Regions from separate parts of the Homo sapiens genome. Here region 1 is linked to region 2. Evidence: promoter capture Hi-C in 16 types of primary human blood cells and fetal thymus (Javierre and others, 2016). All regions are on one chromosome and are shown on one strand. Each heading gives the region's core, a stretch centred on a gene start or on the middle of the fragment in contact. The rest is flanking DNA. Distances are from core to core; before and after follow the strand shown.

Region 1 (6,467 bases), core at 1,721-4,220, 170 kb before region 2:
TGCCAAACCTTTCCTGCTTCTGTTATCTAAACCCTGCCCTCTTTCAACGACTAACTCAAGTCCATCCTATCATTCTTTCTGTTAAACATGATCTATACACTCAGTGTTTGGCCGTTTACTCCATTAAATGGAATCATGTACATAAAATACCTAGTGCAGGGTTTGGGGCCTGGTGGGGTGGCTCACACTTGTAATCCTAGCACTTTGGGAGACCAGCCTGGACAACATAGTGAAACTATTAAAAATACAAAAAATTAGTCTCTACTAAAAATACAAAAAATTAGCTAGGCGTAGTGGCATGTCCCTGTAATCCCAGCTACTCGGGAGGCTGAGGTGGAAGGATCACCTGAGCTCAGGAGGTCCAGGCTACAGTGAGCTATGATGGTGCCACTGCATTCTAGCCTGGGCAACAAGAGTGAGACTCTGTTTCAGAAAAACAAAAACAAAAATAAAAAACACCCACCTAGTACAGGGTTTAGTATATAGTAGGCTCTCAAAAATGTTACTCTCCAGCTGATCCAATGGTAGTGGTTAACAGAACTTATTAACATCAGTTCCTGTCTCCCTTCCTTTCTTTCAAAGTATCTTCATATTTTTTTTCTCTTTTTTTTTTTTTTTTTTTTGGAGACAGAGTCTCGCTCTGTCACCCAGGCTGGAGTGCAGTGGCACCATCTCAGCTCACTGCAACCTCCACCTCCAGGGTTCAAGTGATTCTCTTGCCTCAGCCTCCCAAGTAGCTGAGACTACAGGCGAGCGCCGCCACGCCCAGCTGATCTTTTGTATTTTTAGTAGAGACGGGGTTTCACTGTGTTAGCCAGGATGGTCTCGATCTCCTGACCTCGTGATCCACCCGCCTCAGCCTCCCAAAGTGCTGGGATTACAGGCGTGAGCCACCGTGCCCGGCATATCTTCATATTTTATTCTATTTGATTCCCATGACAAATTTCGTGAGACTGAACAGGGCAAAATTAGTCCCATTTTAGAGATGAGGAAATAGAGTGAGTCTGGCAAGGGCCAGATAGTAAATATTTTAGGCTTTGTAGGCTTTATGTCTCTATTGCAACTACCCAATTCGGCCATCGTAGCCCAAAGCAGCCATACATAACACACAGTCAAATAAGCATGACTGTAGGTCAACAGCCTTATTTACAAAAACAGGTGGAGCAGGATTTGACCTGTAAACTGTAGTCTCCAGACCCCTGGTTTTAAATGACTTCTTCAAGGTCATAGGCCTGATGAGTATTAGAATTGGGATAGAATCCAGATCTCCCAACTTTGAAGCCAGTGCCTTTCACCACATTATGCTGTGGCATATTTTATTTATTATTTGTTTGTTTATTTATTTTTTGAAATGGAGTTTCACTCTTGTTGCCCAGGCTGGAGTGCAATGGTGCGATCTCGGCTCACTGCCACCTCCGCCTCCCAGGTTCATGTGATTCTCCTGCCTCAGCCTCCCAAGCAGCTGGGATTACAGGCATGTGGCACCACGCCTGGCTAATTTTGTATTTTTAGTAGAGACAGGGTTTCACCATGTTGGCCAGGCTGGTCTCAAACTCCTGACCTCAGGTGATCTACCCGCCTCAGCCTCCCAAAGTGCTGGGATTACAGGCGTGCGCCACCGCGCCTGGCCCTATTTATTTATTTATTCATTTTTAATTTTTTGAGACAGGGTCTCACTCTATTGCCCAGGCCAGGGTGCAGTGGTGTGATCAAAGCTCGCTGCAGCCTTGACCTTCCAGGCTCAGGTGATCCTCCCCCTCAGCCTCCCAAGTAGCTAGGACAACAGGCCATGCCACTACACCCGGCTAATTTCTATATTTTTTGTAAAGACGGAGTTTTGCTTTGTTGCCCAGGCTGGTCTCGAACTTCTGGGCTCAAGTGATCCGCCTGCCTTGGCCTCCCAAAGTGCTGGGATTACAGGTGTGAGCCACCGCGTCCAGCCCATATAATTTATTTTGCATTTATTATATACTACTTTGTTTTAGTATCTTTTATGTGGTCCTAGTGGTCCAGGAGGCACTAGAGTGGTATCAACAGTATCTGACACAGAGTAGTCATTCAGTGAAAGTTTGTTGACAAGCATAATAATGTCCCAATCTAGTTCTATTTCGTTACTTTGGACCTGGCTTACTCTGAGGTGGGCTTAAGTGTTAGTGTAAGTTATTAGCATCAACTGATGATGCACACGTCTGTGTCTGTGTCTGTGTGTGTGTGTGTGTGCGTGAGCGTGCGCGCGCACTCTCTCTCTAAGGGAGGTACGTTTTCCTACAGCCATTAGATGTTAACTTACGTGAATAACCATAAATGGATATGTACAGGTAGCATACAAATAGGAGGACGGGTGTCTCCACAGCGAAGAAGAAATTTAAAAGGAGGTTTTTCAGTAGGTCTCATTAGCACGAAAAGGCATAGAAGCTGACATAATTTTTTATTCTAAACCCTGCAGGTGTTTCCCATATATCTTTATTGATTTCACTTTATGTAGTTAAATTAGTGGGAAGATGATATAGGAAACTCACAGTATGTTTATTTCTTTTCCTTAGCACTTAGGCAGATGACGTGTATGAATCAATCTATTTTTCGTCCGGAGAGCAGATCTCAAAGAGTCTGTCCTTTCCAAAGAGAAAACAGGAAGCATCCTCAGGAAGCGCCTACTTCTCTTGTTTTCCATCGAGAAAGAGAAATGGCTCAAATATTTATCAAGGATTTCACAGGATTAAGGGGTATGAAATTGGGCTGACCTTCTCAGAGGCCGAAGGACTTCGACTCCATGAGAGGGCGAGAAACGTGTTTCGGGGGAATTTAAGTCAATGAGTATTTTGCTTTGTCAGGTGTAGAGTCCAGGCCCGGGGAAGAGAGGCAGTCAACAGAGGCCAGAAAGGACGTTGCTATGGTTTCCACGCACGTTGTCTCCCTCGGCCTGTTTCTTTGCGCGGCGCTGGCGATTCCGTAATTTCCGCTTCCGGTAGTGAGAACCCTTCCGGTGGGCTAGGTACTGAGCGCGCGAGGTGAGGAGTTGTGCAGGGTTTGGGGAAAGGAAGGCTGGCTTGGCGAGAGGGCAGGTTTGCGGGCTTTCGCCCCCTTTTCCAAAGACCAACAAAGAGTCCTTCCCCAACTCCCAACTCAACCCCTTTTGGAACTATGTGTGGTGGTTGGGACCCTGTGGCGCATCCTTGTCGCTCGTGTCCTTCTCATGCCCGGCGACGCGTCTTTGTGGTAACGCCCTGCTGCCATCTCTTTTCTTCTCTATGCGAGGATTTGGACTGGCAGTGAGAATAAGAGACAACGATTCACGTCTACTTTCTAGGATGACTTCCATGTGCTCCATCTCGCGCGTCCCTGAGCATGTTGAATTTCCAAATCCTAAATAAGCCGCGCGGTGTAGTTTGTATTATGTTGCGTTTCTCTTTCTGCTTTCCTCGCCCTTTCTCCATCATCCTTTAGGCTCTACAGAGTGAAGGTTTAAATCCAAGGTCATGGCAAAACATCTGAAGTTCATCGCCAGGACTGTGATGGTACAGGAAGGGAACGTGGAAAGCGCATACAGGACCCTAAACAGGTAACTGTTAAGGGACCAGAATCATGCCTAGACTCTCTGGGAAGTGCGGTGGTTATTCTCTCCCTTCCCCTTTCGTTGATTGTTCTCAAAACAGTGCCAGCCCAGGTGTTCACAGTCTCTTAAAACGTCTCAGCCCCTCAGTTTATTATCTTAAAAATGAAGTTCTGGGCCGGGCGCGGTGGCTCACGCCTGTAATCCCAGCACTTTGGGAGGCCGAGGCGGGTGGATCACATGCGGTCAGGAGTTTCAGACCAGCCTGGCCAACATGGTGAAACCGTGTCTCTACTAAAAATACAAAAATTAGCCGGGCGTGGTGGCAAACGCCTGTAATCTCAGCTACTCGAGAGCTGAGGCAGGAGAATCGCTTGAACCCGGGAGGCAGAGGTTGTAGTGAGCCAAGATCGAGCCACTTGCACTCCAGCCTGGGCAAGAGTGAGACTCTATCTCAAAAAAAAAGAAAAAAAGTTCTTCCTCAAACCTAACTGTATGAATTGTATTCAACAAGTAATCACCCCCCGCACCTCCCCGCTTTTAATTTTAATTTTAATTTTTTTTTTTTTTTTTGAGGCAGAGTCTCGCTCTGTCACCCAGGCTGGAGTGCAGCGGCACGATCTCGGCTCACTGCAAGCTCCGCTTCCTGGGTTCACGCCATTCTCCTGCCTCAGCCTCCTGAGCAGCCAGTACTACAGGCTCCCGCCACCACGCCCGGTTAATTTTTGTATTTATAGTAGAGATGGGGTTTCACCGTGTTGGCCAGGATGGTCTTGATCTCCTGACCTCAAGTGATCTGCCTGCCTCTGCCTCCCAAAGTGCTAGGATTACAGGCGTAAGCCACAGCGCCCGGCCCCGCTTTTTAAAAATTGAGACAGGGTCTTGCTGTGTCACTCAACAATCCTCCTGCCTCAGTCTCCTGACTAGCTGGGTCTAGTGACGCACGCCACCACCGCAGTTAATTTTTGTATTTTCTGTACAGAGGGAGTCTCGCCATGTTGCCCAAGCGTAATGACTCCTTTTATGAGGAACCTGAATTCTTTAGAAGACTTAAAAAAGAGCCCAAATGGAAAATCAAGATGTGAAGTTGCTAGGAAGCGGGAACGTAGTATGATAAATAGAAAGCTGAGGGAGTGATTGGTGTGGGACAAAGCTAAAGGAAAAGGTGAATTCAGATTGGCATCCTAGAGAAGCAGGCAAAAGATGGGAAAGCTCACTGGGTGGGATGACTCACACCTGTAATCCTAGCACTTTGGGAAGCCTAGTGGGGAGGATTGCTTGTTGCCAAGAGTTCAAGACCAATCTGGTAAACATAGCAAGACCCCATTTCTAAAAATATTAAGAAGAAAGGGAAAAAAAGAAAGATGGGAAAGCTTACAAGTTTTCAGGAAAGATACAGCATAAGGAAAAATACATAAATGGAAACAAACTAGCTGGGGTGGAGGAGCTTTATAGCTTCATTGAAAATTTTTGAATGCCAGGCTAAGAGATGTAGAAGAGCCCTAGTAATACTTTTTTTTTTTTTTTTTTAAAACGGAGTCTTGCTCTGTTGCCAGGCTGGAGCGCAGTGGTGCAGTCTCGGCTCACTGCAGCCTCCGCCTCCTGGGTTCAATTGACTCTTCTGCCTCAGTCTCCTGAGTAGCTGGGACTACAGGTGCCCACCACCACGCCTGGCTGATTTTTGTATTTTTAGTAGAGAGGGTTTCACCACGTTAGCCAAGATGGTCTCAATCTCTTGACCTCGTGATCCACCCGCCTTGGCCTCCCAAAGTGCTGGGATTACAGGCATGAGCCACTGCATCCGGCCCAGCCCTAGTAGTACTTTACCACTGAATTCTCAAGCAAAAAGTTCTTAACCTTCCCTTCTCACCAGTTGTGTGGATTTTGACTTTCTGGTATGACTCACGCGTCATTTTCTTTCCCCAATGTGAAGTAACATTTGGAGAAACAAACGCTTGTTGAGTTGAATTATCAAAGAATTGTAAGGAAGGGGCTCCTGTAGTGCTAGCTGCTCCAGAGGCTGAGGCAAGAGGATTGCTTGAACCCAGGAGTTCAAGACTGTAGTGTGAGTGCACTCTTGTTGTGCCTGTGAATAACCACTCCACTCTAACCTAGGAAGCATAGTGAGACCATGTCTCTTAAAAAAAATGTAGGAAAGATATTGCATGGGCTGCATTAAGGCCTTTAATGTGGTAGCTTTATTTCACAAGTAAGGGAAGCCTTGGAAGATCAGATTATCTTTATTGGGTTATGCAGTTATTGAATGGTGGAGAGGAGCCTAAAGCACATCTTTTTAGTGCAATGTTCTTTAATAATTATTACTAGTCTTACTAGAAATGGAAAGACTTATGGTGGTTCATTTTCCAATTTAGAATCCTTGTCTTGTCATTTCAGCAGGTGTCGCTTTAAAAAAAAAACCAGAATCCTCATCTGATTGGGTTTAAATATTGGTAGGGTTCTTGAGGACTGAGAGGGCAAAGGAAAGGGAACCTAGTTCTTAGCAAAGCAGAGAGTTCTAGGTGTGGAAGGCTGGATGGCAGAAGACCACAGTGAGGAAAAAAATGCTGTCAGCCGGGCGCGGTGGCTCACGCCTGTAATCCCAGCACTTTGGGAGGCCAAGGCGGGCGGATCACGAGGTCAGGACATCGAGACCATCCTGGCTAACACGGTGAAACCCCGTCTCTACTAAAAATACAAAAGATTAGCCGGGCGTGGTGGCACACACCTGTAGTCCCAGCTACTGAGGAGGCTGAGACAGGAGAATCGCTTGAACCCGGGAGGAGGAGGTTGCAGTGAGCCGAGAGCGTGCCACTACACTCCAGCCTGGGCAACAGAGCGAGACTCTGTCTACAAAAAAAAAAAGAAAAAATGCTGTCAGAAGCTGTGTAAATGAGAAGCAGTTGCAGGCTCAGAATGG
Region 2 (7,213 bases), core at 1,503-4,002:
ATTATGCCACTGCACTCCAGTCTGGGAGACAGAGCGAGACTCCGTCTTGGGGGGACGGTCGGGGGAAAGTAGCTACTAGCTACCTGTGGCTAAGCATTTGAAATGAAGCTTGTCCAACTTGAGATGTGCTATAAGTATAAAATACACATTGAGGCCAGGTGCAGTGGCTCATGCCTGTAATCTCAGCACTTTGTGAGGCTGAGGCGGGCAGATTGCTTGAGCCCAGGACTTTGAGACCAGCCTGGGCAACATAGTGAAACCCTGTCTCTACAAAAAATATAAAAATTAGTCAGCGTGGTGGCATGCGTCTGTAGCCCCAGCTGCTGGAAAGGCTGAGGCAGGAGAATCACTTGAGCCTGGGAGGCGGAGGTTGCAGTGAGCCAAGACCATGTCACTGCACTCCAGCCTAGATGACAGAGGGAGACCCTCTCTCCAAAAAAAAAAAACCAGACACATTGGAGTCCAGAAACTAGGCCGAGCATGGTGGCAGAAACTCTCCCAAAGAGTTAAAATATCTCATTAATAATTTTTTATTTATAACACTGAAATGAAAATATTTGGGATATATTAGGATGAATAAAATAGAATTTTTAAATTACATGTGTCTGTTTCTTTTTATTTGTTTGTTTTTGAGAGAAAAAGAGAGTTTCCCTCTGTCGCCCAGGCTGGAGTGCAGTTGCGCAATCTTGGCTCACTGCATCCTCCATCTCCTGCGTTCAAACAATTCTCCTGCCTCAGCCTCCCGAGTAGCTAGGATTGATTGTAGGTGCATACCACCACACCCGGCTATTTTTTGTATGTTTATTAGAGACGGAGTTTCACCATGTTGGGCAGGCTGGTCTCGAACTCCTGACCTCAAGTGATCCGCCTGCCTCGGCCTCTCAAAGTGCTGGGAGGTGGGCTTGAGCCACCATGCCCGGCCCTGATTCTTTTTTTGTTAATTTGGCTGCTAGAAAATTTAAACTTACATATGTGGCATATGTGGCTTAAATTGTATTCATGTTAAATAGCACTGTTTTGGGATGAGGGGTCACTTATACTGGAATTCCTTATTCTCTGTCACTTTTGACCATCAAGAATTCCAAAGTCAGTTTGTTAATCACACTTTCAGAAATAACCTGATTTGGTGAATTGTTTCTCTTATATCCCCAGCCTTCATAAATCTTATTAGATAGTTTGACTCCTGTTGAATTCAATGCACTATTGATACAGCCCTTAAAGCATTAAAAATAATTATTCAAGGTGATTGAGAGTTAAAACATTGTAGTTTCAAATTAGCTAGTGCCTGATTGCACCCCCCAATAGGGCAATTTCAGGAAGCCAGAGGAAAATACAATGAACACTATAGAGGTTCTGTTTCTAAGAACAGAAGTTCTTAGAAAGTTCTCAGGTTAATGGAAAAGAAAAACACAGGACAATTTATGAAAAATATCATTTCCAAAAGACAGAACACAAATGTGTACCAAATAATAACATGCTTCTTGAATTGTACAGATTTAATACACAAATACTAAGAAAATGCAAAGGAATCATTGAAAAGTAAGATACAAGATAAATTCTGGAAATTGCTTGCTTTTTTTTTTTTTTTTGAGACGGGAGTCTCGCTTTGTTGCCCAGGCTGGAATGCAGTGGCACAATCTCGGCTCATTGCAACCTCTGCCTCCTGGGTTCAAGCGATTCTCGTGTCTCAGCCTCTGTAGTAGCTGGGATTATAGACGCCTGCCACCACACCTAGCTAATTTTTTGTATTTTTTGTGGAGGCAGGATTTCACCATGTTGACCAGGCTGGTCTCGAAATCCTGACCTCACATGAGCCATTGTCCCCAGCTGGAAATTGCTTTTAAGCAGATATTAAAGGTGGGAATTATCATAAATTATGAAGAGTATGACTTTTTCAAAAAAGCATGAAGTGAGTCGTTGTTTTCTCTAAAGTAGTGCCTTTTCCCCCAAGTCCGGAAATATTAGGACATGTTATTTCATATAGGAAGCAAAGTCTGGAAAGTAGTAGGATGTAATATCTCTTTTCTTTGTTGAAACAGTCGAGGACAGGAAGGAAAAACCTGCAGAGAAGTCAGCTGTATCCACTTCTGTACCTACAAAGCCAACAGAAAATATCTCAAAGGCCTCTTCATGTACCCCAGTGCCTGTGACCATGACAGCAACTCCACCTCTTCCAAAGCCTGTGAATACTTCTCTTTCCCCTTCCCCAGCATTGGCTTTGCCAAACCTGGCTAATGTGGATCTGGCAAAGATCAGTTCCATCCTTAGCAGTTTAACATCAGTCATGAAAAATACTGGTAAGTAAGCCCAGTAAGGAGGATAAAAAGTTAATTTCCATCTTTTTAAATTGAATCATTAATCTGTTTTTGGGGGGGTTGTTGTTGTTGTTGTTGTTGTTGTTTAGACAGAGTTTCGCTCTGTCTCCCAGGCAGGAGTGCAGTGGTGCAATCTTGGCTCACTGCAACCTCTGCCTCCCGGGTTCAAGTGTTCTGCTGCTTCAGCCTCCCAAGTAGCTGGGATTACAGGCACCTGCTACCACGCCCGGCTAATTTTTGTATTTTTAGTAGAGATGGGGTTTCACCATGTTGGCCAGGCTGGTCTTGAACTTCTGACCTCAGGTGATACACCCACCTCGGCCTCCCAAAGTGCTGGGATTATAGGCGTGAGTCACCGTGCCCAGTCTGTTGTTGATTTTTTTTAATTAATGATTTTTTTTTTTTTTTCTGAGACGGAGTTTCAGTCATGTTACCTAGGCTGGAGTGCAATGGTGCAAACTTCACTCACTGCAGCCTCCATCTCCCAGGTTCAAGCAATTCTGCCTTAGCCTCCCAAATAGCTGGGACTACAGGCATGTGCCACCATGCCCAGCTAATTTTGTATTTTTGGTAGAGACGGGGTTTCACCATGTTGGTCAGGCTGGTCTCAAACTCCTGACCTCAGGTGATCCACCCATCTTGGCCTCCCAAAGTGCTGGGATTACAGGCGTGAGCCAGCGCACCCAGCTAAATTAATTGTTAAATTAAAAAATAATCCAATAATCGGTCATTATAGAAAAATTAGAAAATAAGCAAAGAGAATGAAATAAATATCTAGGCCAGGCGTGGTGGCTCATGCCTGTAATCCCAGCACTTTGGGAGGCTGAGATGGTAGATTGCCTGAGGCCAGGAGTTCGAGACCAGCCTTGGCAATATAGTGAGACCCTATCTCTAAATAAAAAATTTTAAATGAAAAAAATTTTTTAATAAATATCTATAATCCTGTTACCCCAAAGGAAACCACTTGTGTTTACCCTTAAAAGTATATGTGTATATGAATGTTTTGGAGAATTAAATATGTATAACAATTTTTAAAAAAGTAAGTGTATTGCATATACTGTTTCAAAACTAGCTATTTAAAAGTTAATTACATATCTTGAATGTTTTTATGAATCATTAAATATTTCTCTACATCATTTTTAATAGCTGCATAGCATGTGGTAACTTATCTAATCCTTTATTATTAGGCACTTAGTATGTTTCCAGTTTTTTACTGTTATGAAGAATACTATAGGGCCAGGTGTGGTGGCTCACGCCACCACTTTGGGAGGTGGAGGCAGGTTGATCACTTGAGGCCAGGAGTTGGAGACAAACCTGGACAACATGGCGAAACCCCATCTCTACTTAAAAAAACAAAAATTATGGCCGAGCGTGGTGGCTCACACCTGTAATCCCAGCACTTTGGGAGGCCGAGGCGGGTGGATCACGAGGTCAAGAGATCGAGACCATCCTGGCCAACATGGTAAAACCCCGTCTCTACTAAAAATACAAAAAAATAGCCAGGCATGGTGGCGGGCGCCTGTAGTCCCAGCTGCTCGGGAGGCTAAGGCAGGAGAATGGCCTGAACCCAGGAGGCGGAGCTTGCAGTGAGCCAGGATCGCGCCACTGCACAGCCTGGGCGACAGAGCAATACTCCGTCTCAAAAAAAAACAAAAAACAAAAATTAGGCCAGGTTTGGTGGCTCACGCCTGTATTTCCAGCACTTTGGGAGGCCAAGGCAGGCGGATCACCTGAAGTCAGGAGTTCAAGACCAGCCTGGCCAACTTGGTGAAACCCTGTCTACTAAAAATACAAAAATTAGCTGGGCATGGTGGCATGCATCTGTAGTCCCAGCTACTTGGGAGGCTGAGGCAGGACAATCACTTGAACCTGGGAGGCGGGGGTTGCAGTGAGCCAAGATCACGCCACTGCACTTCAGCCTGGGCAACAGAGCAAGACTCCGTCTCAAAAAAAGAAAAAATTCGCCAGCTGTGGTGGCACGTACCTGTAATCCCAGCTACTCATAAGGCTGAGGCATAAGTATCATTTGAACCCAGAAGGCAGAGGTTGCAGTGATCCAGGATCAAGCCACTGCACTCCAGCCTGGTTGACAGAGCGAGACTCTTGTCTCAAAAAAAAACAAAAAACAAAAAAAAAACCTGTAAATTATAAAAATTTTATGAATAACCCTTTGCAAGGGTTAAGTATATAAAACCTTTTTAATGGAATTTTATTTTTATTTATTTATTTATTTATTTTGAGACAGTCTCACTCTGTCCCCCAGGCTGCTGGAGTGCAGTGGCGCGATCTCAGCTCACTGCAAGCTCCGCCTCCCAGGTCACGCCATTCTCCTGCCTCAGCCTCCTGAGTAGCTGGGACTACAGGTGCCTGCCACCACGCCCAGCTAATTTTTTGTATTTTTGGTAGAGACGGGCTTTTACCATGTTAGCCAGGATGGTCTCGATCTCCTGACCTCGTGATCTGCTCGCGTTGGCCTCCCAAAGTGCTGGGATTACAGGCGTGAGCCACCGCATCCGGCCATTTATTTATTTATTTTGAGACAAGGTCCCACTCCATCACCCAGGCTGGAGTGCAGGGGTGCAGTCATGGCTCACTGTAACCTCAAACTTCTGGGTTCAAGTGATCCTCCCACCTGAGCCTTTGAGTGGCTGAGATCACACGTGTGCACCACCACATCTGGCTAAGTTTTGTGGGTTTTTTGGTAGAGACAGTGTCTTACTATGTTGCCCAGGCTGATCTTGAACTCCTGGGCTCAAGTGTTCCTCCCATCTTGGCCTCCTAAAATGTTGGGATTACAATCATGAGCCACTGCACCCAGCCCGAAATTTTTTAAATAAATTTTGCCAGGCAAGGTGGGATACCGTGTAGTCCCAGCTACTCGGGAGGCAAATGCAGGAGGATCACTTGAAGCCAGGAATTCCAGGACGTGTAGTTCACTGTGATCACGCCTGTGAATGTCCACTGCACTCCAGCCTGAGCAACCCAGTGAGACCATATCTCAAAAACTAAATAAAAATAAAGTATTTTAATATATAACTAAATTGATATCCAAAAAAGTGCTATTTTATATGACTAATATATGAAAGCTTCTGTTGTTCCTTACCTTCTCCAGTTACTTGCCTTGTGCAGTCTACAAATCCAGCCTTAAAAAGTTGTTTAATTTCCATTTCTTCTATGAAAGATGTTAAAAATTTTTTTCCTTTGCTTCTCACTTAAGTTTCTTTGTGAAATATCTGTTCATATTTATCTTTTTTAAAATAACAAATGTTTTTCTCTTTATATATTTTATTTCCTGTGTTAAAGATCAACCCAGTGTTTTTAAATGTAAAAATATAAAGGAAATTTCTTAAATAATCTCATTTTAAAAGCTATTTCAAAAGCATATAACTTACCAGTCACATGAAATTATGCAGTGGCTGAGTTATACAACTGCAGTGGCTCTCAGCATCCAGTCAGCCAGCAGTATTTATTGAGCGCCTACAGGGCTCTGAACTGTAGGTGCCATTTGGTGGAGAAAAAAGATTGTCCAGGTGTGGTGGTACATGCCTGTAATTCCCAGCACTTTGAAAAGCCAAGGTGGGAGGATCACTGGAGGTCAAGAGTTGAAGACCACCCTGGGCAATGTAGCAAGACCCTGTCTCTATTTTTTAAAAATAAATAAGAAATATTGGGGCTCTCAAAACTATGAAAATCACTTAATACTTGTTTTTTTCAAGACAGAGTCTCACTGTGTCTCAACTCTTGTCTCACTGCAACCTCCACCTCCTGGGTTCAAATGATTCTCCTGCCTCAGCCTCCCGAGTAGCTGGGATTACAGGCGCCTGCCACCATACCCGGCTAATTTTTTATTTTTGGTAGGGACAGGGTTTCCCCATGTTGGTCAGGCTGGTCTCGAACTCCTGACCTCAGGTGATCCGCCTGCCTCGGCCTCCCAAAGTGCTGGGATTACAGGTGTGAGCCACCTCGCCCGGCCAATACTTGTTTGTTTTAATGGTGTTCCAAGTAAAAGGAGATAATCTTTTCAGGGTTTTTTTTTTTTTTTTTGTACATGTCATGTTATGATGGACCATTTGTGGATCAACCACAGAAGAATTCCTGTTAAATATATCAAACTCATTGAAGTGAGGGGAAGTATCGGAAATTGAAGTCATTTTGAATTGCATTTTCTTGAGTTCATCTTTCTGCCACCAGGGGTCAGTCCTGCATCAAGACCTTCTCCAGGAACGCCCACCAGCCCCAGCAACCTCACCAGTGGCCTGAAAACACCTGCACCTGCCACGACAACATCTCACAACCCTCTGGCAAATATCCTCTCCAAGGTGGAGATCACCCCAGAGAGCATTCTGTCTGCACTTTCCAAAACCCAGACACAGTCAGCCCCTGCACTGCAAGGTAACTGACATATGCCAGAGGGACTCGAATTGTGAATGTTTGTCTCTGGCTTAAATTAATCCTGGATTCCATTTCTGATGAATCCAGAGCCATAAAATGTATAACACAGTTAATTCATTATTCTTTTTATTTATTTATTTATTTATTTATTTAAAATTTTTGAGATGGAGTCTCACTCTGTTGCCTAGTTGGTGTGCAGTGGAGTGCTCTCGGCTCACTACAACCTCTGCCTCCTGGTTCAAGTGATTCTTCTGCCTCAGCCTCCCTAGCAGCTGGGATTACAGGCCCACACCACCATGTCTGGCTAATTTTTGTATTTTTAGTAGAGATGGGGTTTCTCCATGTTGGCCAGGCTGGTCTCAAACTCCTGGCCTCCCAAAGTGCTGGGATTATAGGCATGAGCCACCATGCCTGGTGGTCATTATCCTTTTTTTTATTTTAGACAGAATTTCACTCTTGTCGCCCAGGCTGGAGTGCAGTGGCCCAATCTCAGCTCACTGCAACCT

What was found. The method cuts DNA at HindIII sites, captures the fragments that hold promoters and counts their contacts. A CHiCAGO score of 5 or more calls a contact.
Region 1: a contact is called between the fragment with the promoter of MRPS21 here and a fragment that was not itself captured in region 2, in 2 of 17 cell types (M1 macrophages and M2 macrophages). The highest score is 5.7, in M1 macrophages.

The regions. Positions count from the first base shown.
Region 1 is chr1:150,290,891-150,297,357 of GRCh38, forward strand. It overlaps MRPS21 (mitochondrial ribosomal protein S21), which reads left to right and starts at 2,971. Exons shown (of 3, transcript NM_031901.6): 1 at 2,971-3,008; 2 at 3,445-3,559. The coding sequence starts at 3,477. LOC105371434 (a long non-coding RNA gene) reads right to left here and starts at 2,930. Exons shown (of 2, transcript XR_922129.4): 1 at 2,742-2,930; 2 at 2,410-2,607. RefSeq lists enhancers at 3,259-3,318, 6,152-6,467. The HindIII fragment of the contact is 15,404 bases long and covers 1-4,921 here.
Region 2 is chr1:150,458,021-150,465,233 of GRCh38, forward strand. RPRD2 (regulation of nuclear pre-mRNA domain containing 2) reads left to right here. Exons shown (of 11, transcript NM_015203.5): 9 at 2,040-2,297; 10 at 6,507-6,707. Among named protein-coding and RNA genes, the nearest start is that of TARS2, 26 kb to the right of the region's middle. The HindIII fragment of the contact is 5,293 bases long and covers 107-5,399 here.